Linked DNA regions of Homo sapiens: all the other regions are linked to region 3. Evidence: promoter capture Hi-C in 16 types of primary human blood cells and fetal thymus (Javierre and others, 2016). All regions are on one chromosome and are shown on one strand. The core of a region is centred on a gene start or on the middle of the fragment in contact, and the rest is flanking DNA. Distances in the headings are between cores, read along the strand shown. Region 1 overlaps CROCC (ciliary rootlet coiled-coil, rootletin). Region 2 overlaps CROCC (ciliary rootlet coiled-coil, rootletin). Region 3 holds the start of PADI3 (peptidyl arginine deiminase 3).

What was found. The method cuts DNA at HindIII sites, captures the fragments that hold promoters and counts their contacts. A CHiCAGO score of 5 or more calls a contact.
Region 1: a fragment that was not itself captured here is called in contact with the fragment with the promoter of PADI3 in region 3 in 1 of 17 cell types (neutrophils); the score reaches 11.1 in neutrophils.
Region 2: a contact is called between a fragment that was not itself captured here and the fragment with the promoter of PADI3 in region 3, in 2 of 17 cell types (neutrophils and M0 macrophages). The highest score is 14.4, in neutrophils.

The regions. Positions count from the first base shown.
Region 1 is chr1:16,923,410-16,927,383 of GRCh38, reverse strand. It overlaps CROCC (ciliary rootlet coiled-coil, rootletin), which reads right to left. Exons shown (of 37, transcript NM_014675.5): 3 at 2,905-3,059. Among named protein-coding and RNA genes, the nearest start is that of CROCC, 3.5 kb to the right of the region's middle. RefSeq lists enhancers at 489-1,099, 2,929-3,539, 3,723-3,974. The HindIII fragment of the contact is 6,523 bases long and covers 1-3,974 here.
Region 2 is chr1:16,968,982-16,973,194 of GRCh38, reverse strand. CROCC (ciliary rootlet coiled-coil, rootletin) reads right to left here. Exons shown (of 37, transcript NM_014675.5): 32 at 3,855-4,079; 33 at 3,261-3,410; 34 at 2,742-2,942; 35 at 2,428-2,559; 36 at 1,548-1,730; 37 at 231-835. The coding sequence ends at 749. Among named protein-coding and RNA genes, the nearest start is that of MFAP2, 9.5 kb to the left of the region's middle. RefSeq lists an enhancer at 180-1,157. The HindIII fragment of the contact is 457 bases long and covers 2,547-3,003 here.
Region 3 is chr1:17,247,777-17,251,796 of GRCh38, reverse strand. PADI3 (peptidyl arginine deiminase 3) reads right to left here and starts at 2,699. Exons shown (of 16, transcript NM_016233.2): 1 at 2,568-2,699. The coding sequence starts at 2,659. The HindIII fragment of the contact is 2,587 bases long and covers 2,435-4,020 here.

The sequences.
Region 1 (3,974 bases), core at 967-3,466, 320 kb after region 3:
CCTTTGTGGGCCGATTGGTGGCTGTGTTGAACTGTATGCTTTTCCTGTCCGTGTGCACCCATGAGGTGGGAGATAGCGTGCTGTGTCATCTGCATATGGTTGTTATAGGTCCCCGGTGGTGGGGGGACTGTTCTGTGCCTGTGTGGGGTTGTGTGGCATCTGGCTGTGTGTGCGGCTAACACTGTGCATATTCTGTGAATTGGAGTGTTTCTGTGTGGCCTGGTTTTAGGGTCTCACTATGTTGTTTGTGGAATGTTTTGTGCATCTGTGTGTCTGTGTGGGGCCCAGTGTAGCCCATGTCGTGTACACACTGCATATCTGTGTGAAGCAGGTGCTGTTTGCCTCTGGGACACAGAGGGGTTCAGGCCGTTGCTGGGTTCTCCTCCCCCTTCTCCAGTGCTCAGAACCAGAGCCAGGGCCCTCTCGGCCACACCTCACCCCTTTCCACAAACTTCACCGTGAGCAAAACAGCCTTTCAATTTTACTTGCAATTCAAAAGGGAAGGAGGCTGCCACTAAGCCAGAGATGAAAGAAGTTGACTGTCTCCCCTAGCAACTGCTGCCCTCAGACCGCCATTCAATTTACTCTTTCCAGGTTGCTATGGACACGAGGGAGCCCAGGGGGTCTGTCCTCTGGAGCCAAGGGAGGCGTGACCACTCCCTCCTTTCCATTCCCAGCTGCGCCTACATCTGCTTCTCAGGGACAGCAAGAAGGGGGGACCCCCATGGGGGCCCTGAGGTCCTCTCTCTCGGCTGGGAGGTGGCCTCTGGGAGTGCCTCAGTTTCCCTGCAGGACATGCAGTTAACAGGACACAGACCTGACCCTCCCTCCGCTCCCCATGCCAGGGGTGCTGCAGGGTTGGAAAGATCAGAACAATCTCGCTGACTGCCCACCAACCCAGCCCAACATGCCAGTGAGGGCCACAGGGGCAGGCACTGCCACCTGTGGCCATGGGGACAAGGGGGTGGCAGGGAAAGAGAATGTTGCCCAACTGCAGAGCCCTGGACCAAGGGTCTCATCCCAGGACCACCACTGACCTTGGGCCTATCATGCCCCTCTCCCGGACTTACTTTCCCTATCTGTGATGAGGTGATCTCTAGGCTCTGAAGTTCTCTGGGGACCCACCCTCCAGGAAAGGCCTTTGAGGTCATTCCTGTTCCACCCCTGCCTCCAGGTGGGGCCTCATTCAAACCATGGTGGATAGAGGACAACTGAAGCAGCGGGCGCCCTCTGCGTGCCATTTGGGCCCCCACTAACCACAGGAGGGAGCTTTCTAGACTAACCCAGACCCCCTGTGCTGCAGTCCCAGCCCCAGCAGCTGTGTCCCAGCAGAGGAGGAACCTGCTACCTCCCACCTCTTCCCTTCCCTGCCAACCTGGGGGCAGGGCTAGCTTCAGAAGGTGGCATTTAAGAGGCGGCCCTGGGGGTGTGGCACTGTGCCATGCATGGACCAAAAGAAAGGGGTGCCTGGCTCAGGGCCCCATCACCACCCACAATTCATGACTGGGGCCAGCGTGCCCTACACACCCGCTGCAGACCCTGGGGAAACGAGCTCTCCACTGTCCTCATGCCAGGGGCCACTGCGGGCCGCCTACTCTGCTCCTCTACAAGTCCCAACTAGTCGTGGGTTTGTCCAGCCAGGCAAATCCCAGGACACGGGCACACCCCACAGTCATACACAGGAACACACACCCTCCTGCCAATGCGGGCTCCAGCCTGGACAAGTCCAGCTCAGGGGTCCCATGCCAACCCTAGCTCTGCCACTACCACACAGGGGACCCTGGGCCAGCCCCTGCCTCTCTGGGTCCCTTCCAACTTTGTGGGGGCCAGCTGTGCCCTGAAATCCCTAGCCCAGTGTCTCTTCCCATACACAGGAAATGAAACTTCAGAACTTTGTTTCTAGACTGGGTTAGTTTAGAAACCAAACAGAGCCCTGGGCTGGGAGTTGGAAGACCTGGTGTCTAACTTTAACTGGCTGTGTGCCCCCAGCATGGTGCTTCCCCTCCCTGAGCCTCTGTTTTCTCCTCTGTTACATGGGCATCATAATGGTCCCGACCTTGGTGTATTAAATGTGAAACACTCAGCACGCGCCTGGCACATAGTAGGCACTCAATAAACAGTAGCTACTGTTAATACGTTATTGCCACCTGCATGCCTCTCATCTGCACACATACACTCTGTCCCAGCTGCGAGTGTCCCTTACCAATCTTCAGCCACCACCAACTTCCCAGGGCCACCTCCCGGCCACCCGGAGGCCCAAAGCAGACAGTGCATCAAGAGCATCCCGCACCCCTCGCACCGGCTCACACCCAGCTCCCGCCCCACACCCTGGGACCCCCACAAGCCTGCAGCACGGGTGATGTGAATCCTGCCTGGACATGAAGACAGGCCTGCTTCTCCTTCCTTCCCTGCCTGGAACTCATTCCAATAGGCAGTGGCGGCAGGTCTTGTGGCTGCCCCAGATGGGCTGCAGAACACCGCGGGTGCCCACACCAGCCTCGAGCCAGCATCCAGCCACCGCCTCAACCCCAAGGCCCGTGGCAATGGGAGATGCCCAGAAACTCAAGGGGCAGGAATCTTTAGGGATCTCATTCTCCGTGTCCCACACCCCTAACAGGCCTGGGACAGATGGGAACAAAATACCCCTGGTGCCAGGCACTTTATTCTATTATCTCCTTGATTCCTACAATTCCACGTCCCATTACAATCCCCACTACAGAAAACAGGCTTAAAGAGCATAGTGATTTGCTCAACGCCACTCAAGGTGGCAGAGCCTCAATCCAAGCCCAGGCCAACCTGACTCCAGGGCCCATCTTTTGCCCCGTGTGTGGGCCTGGTCTAGATGCCTCCCTGCCCTTGAACGAGGGGAACCCTGGCCTAGTCCACCACCTGGGCGGCACCCACCCTCTCGCTGACCGCATTGTACTTAATGGCGAGCTCATCGCGCTCGGCACGGCTCTGGGCCAGCAGGTCCTCCACGCGGGACAGCTCCTGCTGCAGCAGCTGGTTCTCCTCCTGCAGCGACAGCAGCGATGCCATCTCTGTGGCCGGCAGCAGGACTGGCAAGGGACAGTGGGCACATGGTTGGCTTCTGGGTCCAGTGGGACATCCTCCCCCCAACAGGGAGGGCAAGAAAACCATCCAGGCCCCTGGGAGGAGTCCAGATGGGAATGGCTGCAGCACCAGGCCTGCAAACAGAGCTGAGAACAGGGAGGAAGGCAAGGAGGGGATACAAAGCTGGACGTAAAGTGAACACAACTCCAGCTAAAGTGTGGCCCAGCAGGTTTGGGAGGTGCAGGAGAGACACTCAGTCTAGGAGCCAGGAGACCCCTGAGTTCTTGCTCCCTCCTTTTCCAATTAGTCTTCTTCTCCGGGGCCTCAGATTTACTTATCTGTAATATGGGTGGGGCGGGCACGGACTCACGCCTGTAATCCCAGCACTTTGGGAGTCGAGATAGGAGGATCACCTGAGGTCAGGAGTTTGAGACTAGCCTGGCCAACACGGCGAAGCCCTGTCTCTACTAAAAATACAAAAATTAGCTGGGCATGGTGGTGTATGCCTGTAGTCCCAGCTACTTGGGAGGCTGAGACAGCAGAATCACTTGAACCGGGGAGGTGGAGGTTGCAGTGAGCTGAGATTGCGCCACTGCACTCCAGCCTGGGCAACACAGCGAGACTCTGTCTCAAAAAAAAAAAAAAAAAAAAAAAAGGTAGAATAGTAGTAACCAGATCCTCCCAGAAAAGCATCAAAGCCTCGCTCAAGAGAAGGGCTTCATGGAACTTTAAAGGCTAGGGCTCAGGAGAGCATAGCATAGGTCAGGTTGTGAGGAGAAGGAGAAAGAGAGAAGAGGGAAAGAAAGGCCAGCGGGAGAAGCGGGGTTGTCCACCTCCTGTGGGTTCCCCTTCTACCCTGGGAGAACTGGACATACACCCCAGGTGTCAGGGTGAGGGCCCTCTGAGTCTCTCCCTGTCTG
Region 2 (4,213 bases), core at 1,526-4,025, 280 kb after region 3:
CAACAGCCCCATCTGTTCCATGGGCCGGGTGACCGAGTACCCCAGAGGCCTCCCCATCTGACATTCTGTGAGGCTGGTAAGTTCCCTTCCCAATACCGGCCTCTCTGCTCTCCCTGCCGCCTCCCCAAGCACCCCTCCCTAGAGGGCCCCATCCCTCTTGCCCCAGACCCTACCTGTCTCCCCCCGACGTCTCCTCCAATTGTCTAGAAAAGGGACACAGCTGTACAAACTTTTTTAAAAACAAGGTTTTGTTACAAAAAACAGTTCTGAACAGTTAACATTGTAAAAAGGTATAAAAATACAGGGACTCTGAGCACTCTGAGGAATTTCCCGACACATGCTCTTAACTAAGGCGGAGAGATCTCTGGGAAGCCGAAGTCAGGGCCTGGGCCTCTGACCCCTGCCCTGGGCCTGGTCCCCCTCCTCTTTCCCACGATCCCATGCTCCAGGGCTGACCAGAGACAAGGGCTCTCCCCAATCCTGGCTACGGCTCAGCCTCTCAAGGAGGAACTTTAATGATCTACAGTGGCTCATCCTAGAAGAGGGGGGCTGGACTGCAGGTGTTGCTGGGAAGCCTCTCCAGGCCTGGAGCTGGAGTACCCGTCCTCAGCACTGCCAGCAGAGCGCCTCCTCATCCCACCCCAGCTTGAGGCCCCCAAGGGACCGGGCTCTGGGTGGGGGGGCTGTCCAAAAGAAGGGTCCTCCCCTGTCCCAGGCACAGGGGTGTTCTCCAGATGCCAGCAGGAGCTCATTTCTCTGGGGGGCCGGAGGGTGGGGAGAAGGGTGCTGAGCTCCTTCGAAGCTCCTGCTGCAGCTGGCCCTTCAGTGTGGACACCTGGGGAAGAAAGGGAAGGTAAGGCCAGCCAGGTCCTCAGCCTGGCTTCAGAGAAAGGGAGGCAGCAGGGAACCCGGAGGGACACAGTGCCACAGTTTCAGGAAAGGTCTGGTCTCACTGAGAGCCAGGGGCTGTCCTGCCTTTCTCATTTTGTTCCTTATAGCAGAGTCAGGCGTCTTCTGACTGTTGGGCACCTTTGAGGGCAACTCCACCCCCATTCTTTATCCCCATCATCACTTGGGTGGGCGTGGCTTCAGCCCAGACCCAAGGGGTGGACATGTGACCCAGCCCGGCCTAGCAGAGAAGCCTTGCCCGGCCGACAAGGCTGGCTCAGGCATGGTCAGGAAGGGGTATGTGATCTGAGCGGGCCAGTGAGGGACAGCCTTAGGACTTCTGCCCCTGCTCTCTTCTGAGATGACAGATTGCTGGGAGAACCTGAGGCTGGAGCTGCTGAGGCCACCTGGCCACCCAGGGAGAAGGCTACCCTGAGCATGGAGCCAGGGGGAACAGAGCCATGGCAGGAGGCCTGGGGCCCAGGAGCATCCCGTGGCCCCGGTCTGGTCTTGGCTGACACCAGCGCAGAGCCAACCCCACCCTTTTCGGTTACGGGAGCCATCGACTGCCTATACCCACAAGGTCTTGATTGGGTCTCTCCTCTTTCTGCAGCCCCACACATCCATCCTGGCCCAGCCTTCTAAGGGGGCCTGCACACCTGCTCCTCCAGCCCACGCACCCTCTGGCGGTGGGCCCGCTCCCGAGCCTCCAGGGTGCGCTCAGTCTGCGCCTGGGCGCTGCGCAGCCGCTCCACCTCCTGCTGCAGCTCCAGCTGCTGCTGCTGCGCATCCACCTCCAGCTGGGCCGGGCTGTGGCTCTGCTCCAGCACCACCACCTGCGCCTGCAGGGAGGGGCTGTGGTCCGCGTTCTGGCCCAGTGTGAGTGTGTGTGTGCATGTGTGACGGGTTGTCAGGTACCTCCCTGGGACACGGCCAGTGCAGAGGGGGAAGGCAGGAGAGATCCTTGTGTGTCTTCCATCCTGCTGGCCCTGACAGTGAGCCTGCGAGCCCAGGATGAGTGCACCCAATGACCCCCACTCAGGCAGGTGCATGGACACACACACACACACACACACACACACACACACACACACACTCAGACATCATACACACAGGCACAAAGGCAAGCATGTAAATACCTATCTGGACTCACACAGGTGCATGTGTATGTGCAAAGGCCCAACTCCCCCATGCATGAAAACATCTGTACACAAACACATATTCATAATACCTAGACACGCCACACCATGCACAAGATTCATGCTCCATACACAAGAATCGTCACATGGATTCTCACACTGCTGCATGGCCACAACGTACATGAACCCACAGGCTCACGTGCAAACAGGCCTTTCGTGTCTTTTCTGTACACCTTAGGGAGAACCCATCCCTCCATGGCCCGCTGGGTCACTGGAAGGCTCAGGGCTCCTGGGGGAGGGGGTTATGGGCCCTGGGCTGGCTGGGCCATCAGCTCCACTGGAATTGCTGAGCACTCATACTAGGGATGAAGTTGGGGTCCCGGACTGGGTGGGGTCAGACCTCCAGCTGCTGGATCTGCCTCTGCGCCTCTGCCAGCTCCAGCTCAGCCCCCGTGAGGGTGCGGTCCAGGCGGCCCTTCTCTGCGCTCAGCCGCACTGTGTCCTCATGGCTACGAAGCTTCTCCCGCTCCACCTAGGCAGGAGAGCCACAGGAGATCAGGGTGCCAGGAGGAGCTTACTGAGGGGGCTCAGGTTCCTGAACCCTGATGGAATAACCTAACCCCACCAGAGGTAGCAGACCCTGGGGATGTGCAGTGGGATCCACCACGGTTAGGCCCCAGAGGAAGTGAGGGGAGAGCCTGGGGAGCAGCCTACCTTGTCCAGCGTCCTCCTGAGGGCTACACGGTCCTTCTCCAGCCGCAGGGCTGAGCGCTCCACCTCCCGCTTCTCAGCTTCCAGCTGAGCCAGGGCGCGCTGCAGGCTTCCCAGGCGCTCCTGCAGCAGCCGCCGCTCGTCTTGCAGCTTCTGGACGGTGTTCAGGGCTGCAGCCTCACCCTCCTGCCGCTGCCGCAGCACCTGCAACAGAAGCCAGGCAGGCCCCGAATCCCTCTGGGCCTGAGCATACTTATCTGAAGCTTGGGGACAATGAGGCTGGCCCACTCACAGAGCAGGCGACGGTGAGGCCCACATCAGAGAATTGTCACCTGAAGCCAAACCTGTCTCTCTCAGTCTGTTTCTCCATCTGTATAACAGGACTATGCTCTGAATGAACCATGTTTCCTTACTGGAGGCTGCACCAGGGTTTGGGATGAGGTTGAGATGGGTGGGAACGTCCCCACCCTATCCTAGGGCCTCACAGTCTTGGGGACAGAGGGGGCACACCCTGGCCCTCACCTCCCGTAGCTGTTGTAGCTGGCCCTCGGCCTCCACCCGCTGCAGTTCCAGGTCAGCCACCTCGCCTCGCAACGTCTGCACCTGCTCGCCCAGGGAGCTGCTCTGCTTCCGTGCCTCAGATAATGCCTGCCGGGCGGCATCCAGCCGTTCCTGGGGGACAGGGGCTGATGGTGCCTGGCTGGCCTGGGAGCCCTAAGGAGTCCTCTCTATTCTGTACCTCTGGACAGGTCCACAGAGCATAAAACAGGCAGTCATCTCACCTGGAGGGTGGGGTGCACACCAAACCCATCCACGGCCTATCCACTGACCTGCATAAGGTGGGACCCACTCAGACCCCAACTCTCCCCAATAAACCCTGCCCCTGGGTCCCCCCAAGTCTATACCAGTAGCCTTGTCTTCTTACGGGACATACCCAGAGCCTCTTCTCCTTGGCTGATGGTCTACTGGGCCCACGCCCTCCCTTCAAAGCCTGCTCTCATTGGCTCCAACTGACTGCCCCATTGGCTGGCTCTCTACCAGGGCCCCCCTCCAAGCCTGCTCTTACTGGCTGACTCTCTCACTGGGCCCACCCCAGCCAGACCCTGGGCCCGAGACCTGGAGTACTTGGCGGTCATGTTCACAGGCGGTCAGAGCCTTCTGCAGATGCAGGTTCTTGTCCCGGGTGCTGTTGAGGCTGGCACTGCTCTGGGCCAGGGCCTCTGTCAGGCCCCGCACCTTGTCCCGCAGGGCCCCCTCGCTTTCCTCCACCTTAGCCAGGGCCCCATTCAGCCGCTCCACGGTCAGCTGCAGGGTCCCTGCCTTCACCTCGCTGTCGGCCACCTGGCAGGAGGACAGCCAGAACAATCGGGGCTGTTCCCATCTGGCCTCTATACCTCTGCTCCCACTGTGACCTCCACCTGGCATGCCCAATCCACACCCTTCCCACTTCTCTCTGGGCCTCCATCATTGAGACC
Region 3 (4,020 bases), core at 1,450-3,949:
GATGATGATGATAATGGTGACAGTTAACATAACTGAATGTTCACCACAAATCAGTATTAGTTACATGCTTTGCACACACAATCTCATTCAATGCCCCTAACTGCCCTTTGAAGTAAGGCCAAACTGGGTTACATCCTGGCTCTGCCACTCACTGGCCATGTGACCTTGGACAAGTTGTTTAACCTCTCTGTGCCTTTGTTTTCTTATCTATAAAATGACGATGATGACAGTGCCCACTTGAGAATTTTGTGAGAATTAGTTAACATATGGAAAGCGCTTACAGGCACTGCTGGGGAGTGGCATTCAGTGCCATTGCTGATATTATTATCATCCCCAGGCAACAGGTGAGGAAACAGAGACTCAGAGAAGTTAAAGGAGTTTCCCACGGTCAGAGAGCTGGGAAGTTGCAGAGCCAGGACTGAGCCACAACACCTACTGCCCTTTCTCTTGTTGGCCCGCAGGCTGAGGACCCAGGATTGTTACATCATGGCACCTCCAAGCCGGGAGGGACCTCAGAACTAACTCAGTCCTGCTCCCCTTCCCAGAAAGGAGTCCTTTCTGTGGCACCCTTGTAAGAAGGTTGTCCAGCCTCTGCTGGCTTCTCAGAGAGGAGGAGCTGCTTGTTCTCCCCTGTATGTGTCCCCAGAGCCTGTGCTCATCCTTCAAGGCTCTGAATGGTACACACACTAGACCCAAAAGAAATACTTGAAGAATATGTGAATGAACGAACTAGGAGCTCTCCACTCCCACCCCTGGGGGGTTTGGCCACCAGGGCCCAAGAATCCCTCATTTGAAGGTATCAGAGCTTCCATCCCCCACCCTGTGGCTGTCCCACCGATGGCCTTCTCTGCAAACCTCCAGTGTGGCTCAGGTGACTCCAGGAAGCTATGGCCTTTATCTCTTATTGCCCCAATCCATCCTCTATCCTCTAAGGAAGCTCTGCGGGGGAGGAGCCAGGCCCAGGCTTCCTGGGACAGGTCAAACCGGAGACACATCTGCCCAACGGGCACGAGGCAGCAGGGGCAGGTGAGTCACCCCATGGCACGCAGCCCAGTCACCCCATGGCAGGCAGGCAGTGGTGCCAAGTGGCAGATACCCCTCCTTCCTCATTACCTCCTTGGCACAGCCTCCGTGGCTGCCCCTTCCTTCAAGAACCACTGAATCCCCTTCCTCCTCCTACTGCCCACCCACCAATACCAGGATTTATTTCCTGGGCTGGCTCTGCTCCCGACTTGGTTCCCTCCCATGACCAGCTCCTCACCCCCTCTCATCCAATGCCCTGGATCAACCCCATCGCTGCTCCCGACTAAGTTCGCCCTGATTTTTCGAGTCTTAGTCTTGGAGACTCGTTCTCAATGGGTGGGCTATTTTCTTCCCACCCCAGGGCACATTTGGCAATGTCTGGGGACATTTTTGGTTGTCACAACTCGGGAGTGTGCTGCTGGTATCTAGCAAAGAGAGGCCCAGAATGCTGCTCTCCATCCTACAGTGCACAGGGTGGCCCCCATGACAAAGAGGTATCGTGACAGCAGTGCTGAGGTTGAGAAACCTGGCCTGAGGAGAGGGCTGGGAGACTTGAGAGGTGAGAGCTGTCCCACAGTTCTGCACCCTCCCCTCCCAGTATCCTGATTACCTCCAAGCCAGGACCCTGGATTCTCCCCAAAAGCCTAAGAAGCCAGCTCCCTGGTGGTCCCCAGAGCCCAGCTCTTAAAACCCTACCCTAACCCTCTTTTCTTCCTAAGAGAGAGAAGATAAGGCCTTACCTCCCTCTACCATGGGCCTCAAAGGCATGACCTGGCACACAGTAGGAGCATAATGCATGGGCATTGAGTGTCTAGAGGAAACCAGGTTGGAAATCTTTATTTTCCAAGTATCAGAGCAGCTAAAACCATAAGACTCCTGAGTAAGACCACAAGCGGGTTTAAACCCTGGCTTTGCCACTTAGTAACTGTGTGACTTGAGCAAATGGCTTGCCCTCTCTGCCTCGGTTTTCTCATTTGTCTGATGAGATGATGCTAATAATAAGCCTAGCTCACAGGGTTGTTGTAAGGGTTAAATTCAAGATTAAAGTTCAAAACTTAACTCAAGAGACTTGTGAAGCTCTTAGAATAGTGCCTGGCACATGGTAAGTGCTATGTATTAACTTATTTTTTAAAAATGATTCATGCTCTGTTTCTAGGCTCATAGGCTCAGGATGGGGCTGGGGATATCTGCCTGTTCCTATTCTTGTGTGCCCCAGACAGATCCTCAGCCCAACCTGCAGCATCCCTTGGACATAGAAAAGTGCCATCTCTTCGCGGCACCAGCCCCCTCCAAGCCCCCGGTCTGGAGCTCAGTCACTGAAGCCTCTTCTACCTGGCTCAGCCTCCCAAACTTCAAATTCCCTGGCTAAGGTCTTCAGGAAACTCAGTAGAGCAAGAGGAGGACCCAAGCTTCCCTGATTGGCTGCTGTTCCGAGGCCAAGGCTGGGGAGTGGGCCCTGAAGAAGCCCTGCCCAGCCTGCAGGGAGGAAGGTCCAAGGGCATCAGCACCAAGGGCCTGCAAACCACTAGGCCTCTGACTCTTACCCATAAATGTCCACGAGGGTCTCCACGCCAGCCACACACACCGCGCTGGTGGGATGCTCCAGGGACACACGCACGATTCTCTGCAGCGACATGCTGGTGTTGGACTTAGCTGTGGCCGCCAACCCCAACACTGCCCCTGAGGCCCCTTAGGATGAGGTTTAAAAGCCCCTGGCCCCACCCCTCCAGCCCAGGGTGCCAATTCATTGGCTCCAGTCATGAAAGCCCAGCCCCTTCCCAGAGCTGAGAGCTCAGGATTGGCTGGAAGGGACCCAGTATTTGTATACGAACCTGTTGTCCCGACCCCGGCACCCAGGAAGTTAATTTCTTGGGAAGCAAGTCCCCACAGGTACCTGGCTAGGCACCAGGAACTGTTGGGGGCAGGTGCTGTTGAGGGGGTGCAGAGATATATGATATTGATCTCGGACGCTTCTTGCTTCCTCACCTCCATTTTCTGCATTTTCAGAGACTATAATGGGGAGCTTTCTTACTCTGCTGGGGAAGCTGGTGAAAATGCGGATTCCCAGGTCTGTTGTCCACTCTGATCCAGCAGGTTAGGGGTGCAGCCTGGCCTCTGGATTTTTTTTTTTTTTTTTGAGACGGAGTTTCACTCTTGTTGCCCAGGCTGGAATGCAATGGTGCGATCTCGGCTCACCGCAACCTTCGCCTCCCAGGTTCAAGCAATTCTCCTGCCTCAGCCTCCCGAGTAGCTGGGATTATAGGCGTGTGCCACCACTTCCGGCTAATTTTGTATTTTTAGTAGAGACGGGGTTTTTCCATGTTGGTCAGGCTGGTCTTGAACTCCAGACCTCAGGTGATCCACCTACCTCGGCCTCCCAAAGTGCTGGGATTACAGGCATGAGCCACAGCACCCGGCCCTCTGGATTTTTTAATAAGCACCCCCAAAGCATTTTGGTGCCCTTTGAGAAACACCAACTTTTTTTTTTTAATGGATTTTAGAGCCAGACCTGGGTTTCAGCCCTGCCTCAGCTGCTTCCTGGATGGGCGACCTTGGGCAAGTTTCTTTTTTTTTTTTTTTTTGAGACAGAGTTTCGCTCTGTCACCCAGGCTAGAGTGCAGTGGCGTGATCTCGGCTCACTGCAAGCTCCACTTCCCGGGTTCACGCCATTCTCCTGCCTCAGCCTCCCGAGTAGCTGGGACTACAGGCGCCTGCCACGGCTCCCGGCTAATTTTTTGTATTTTTAATAGAGGCGGGGTTTCACCGTGTTAGTCAGGATGGTCTCGATCTCCTGACCTCTTGATCCACCCGACTTGGCCTCCCAAAGTACTGGGATTACAGGCGTGAGCCACCATGCCCGGCCGGGCAACTTTCTTAATTGTTCGTGCCTCACTTTTCTCGTCTGAAAAATGGTTGCTGTGAGGCCTCAGGGGCCAGCGTTGGTAGAGCTCTGGTATGGAGCTTGGCGTTATTGTATTACTATTGTTGCTGTTATTA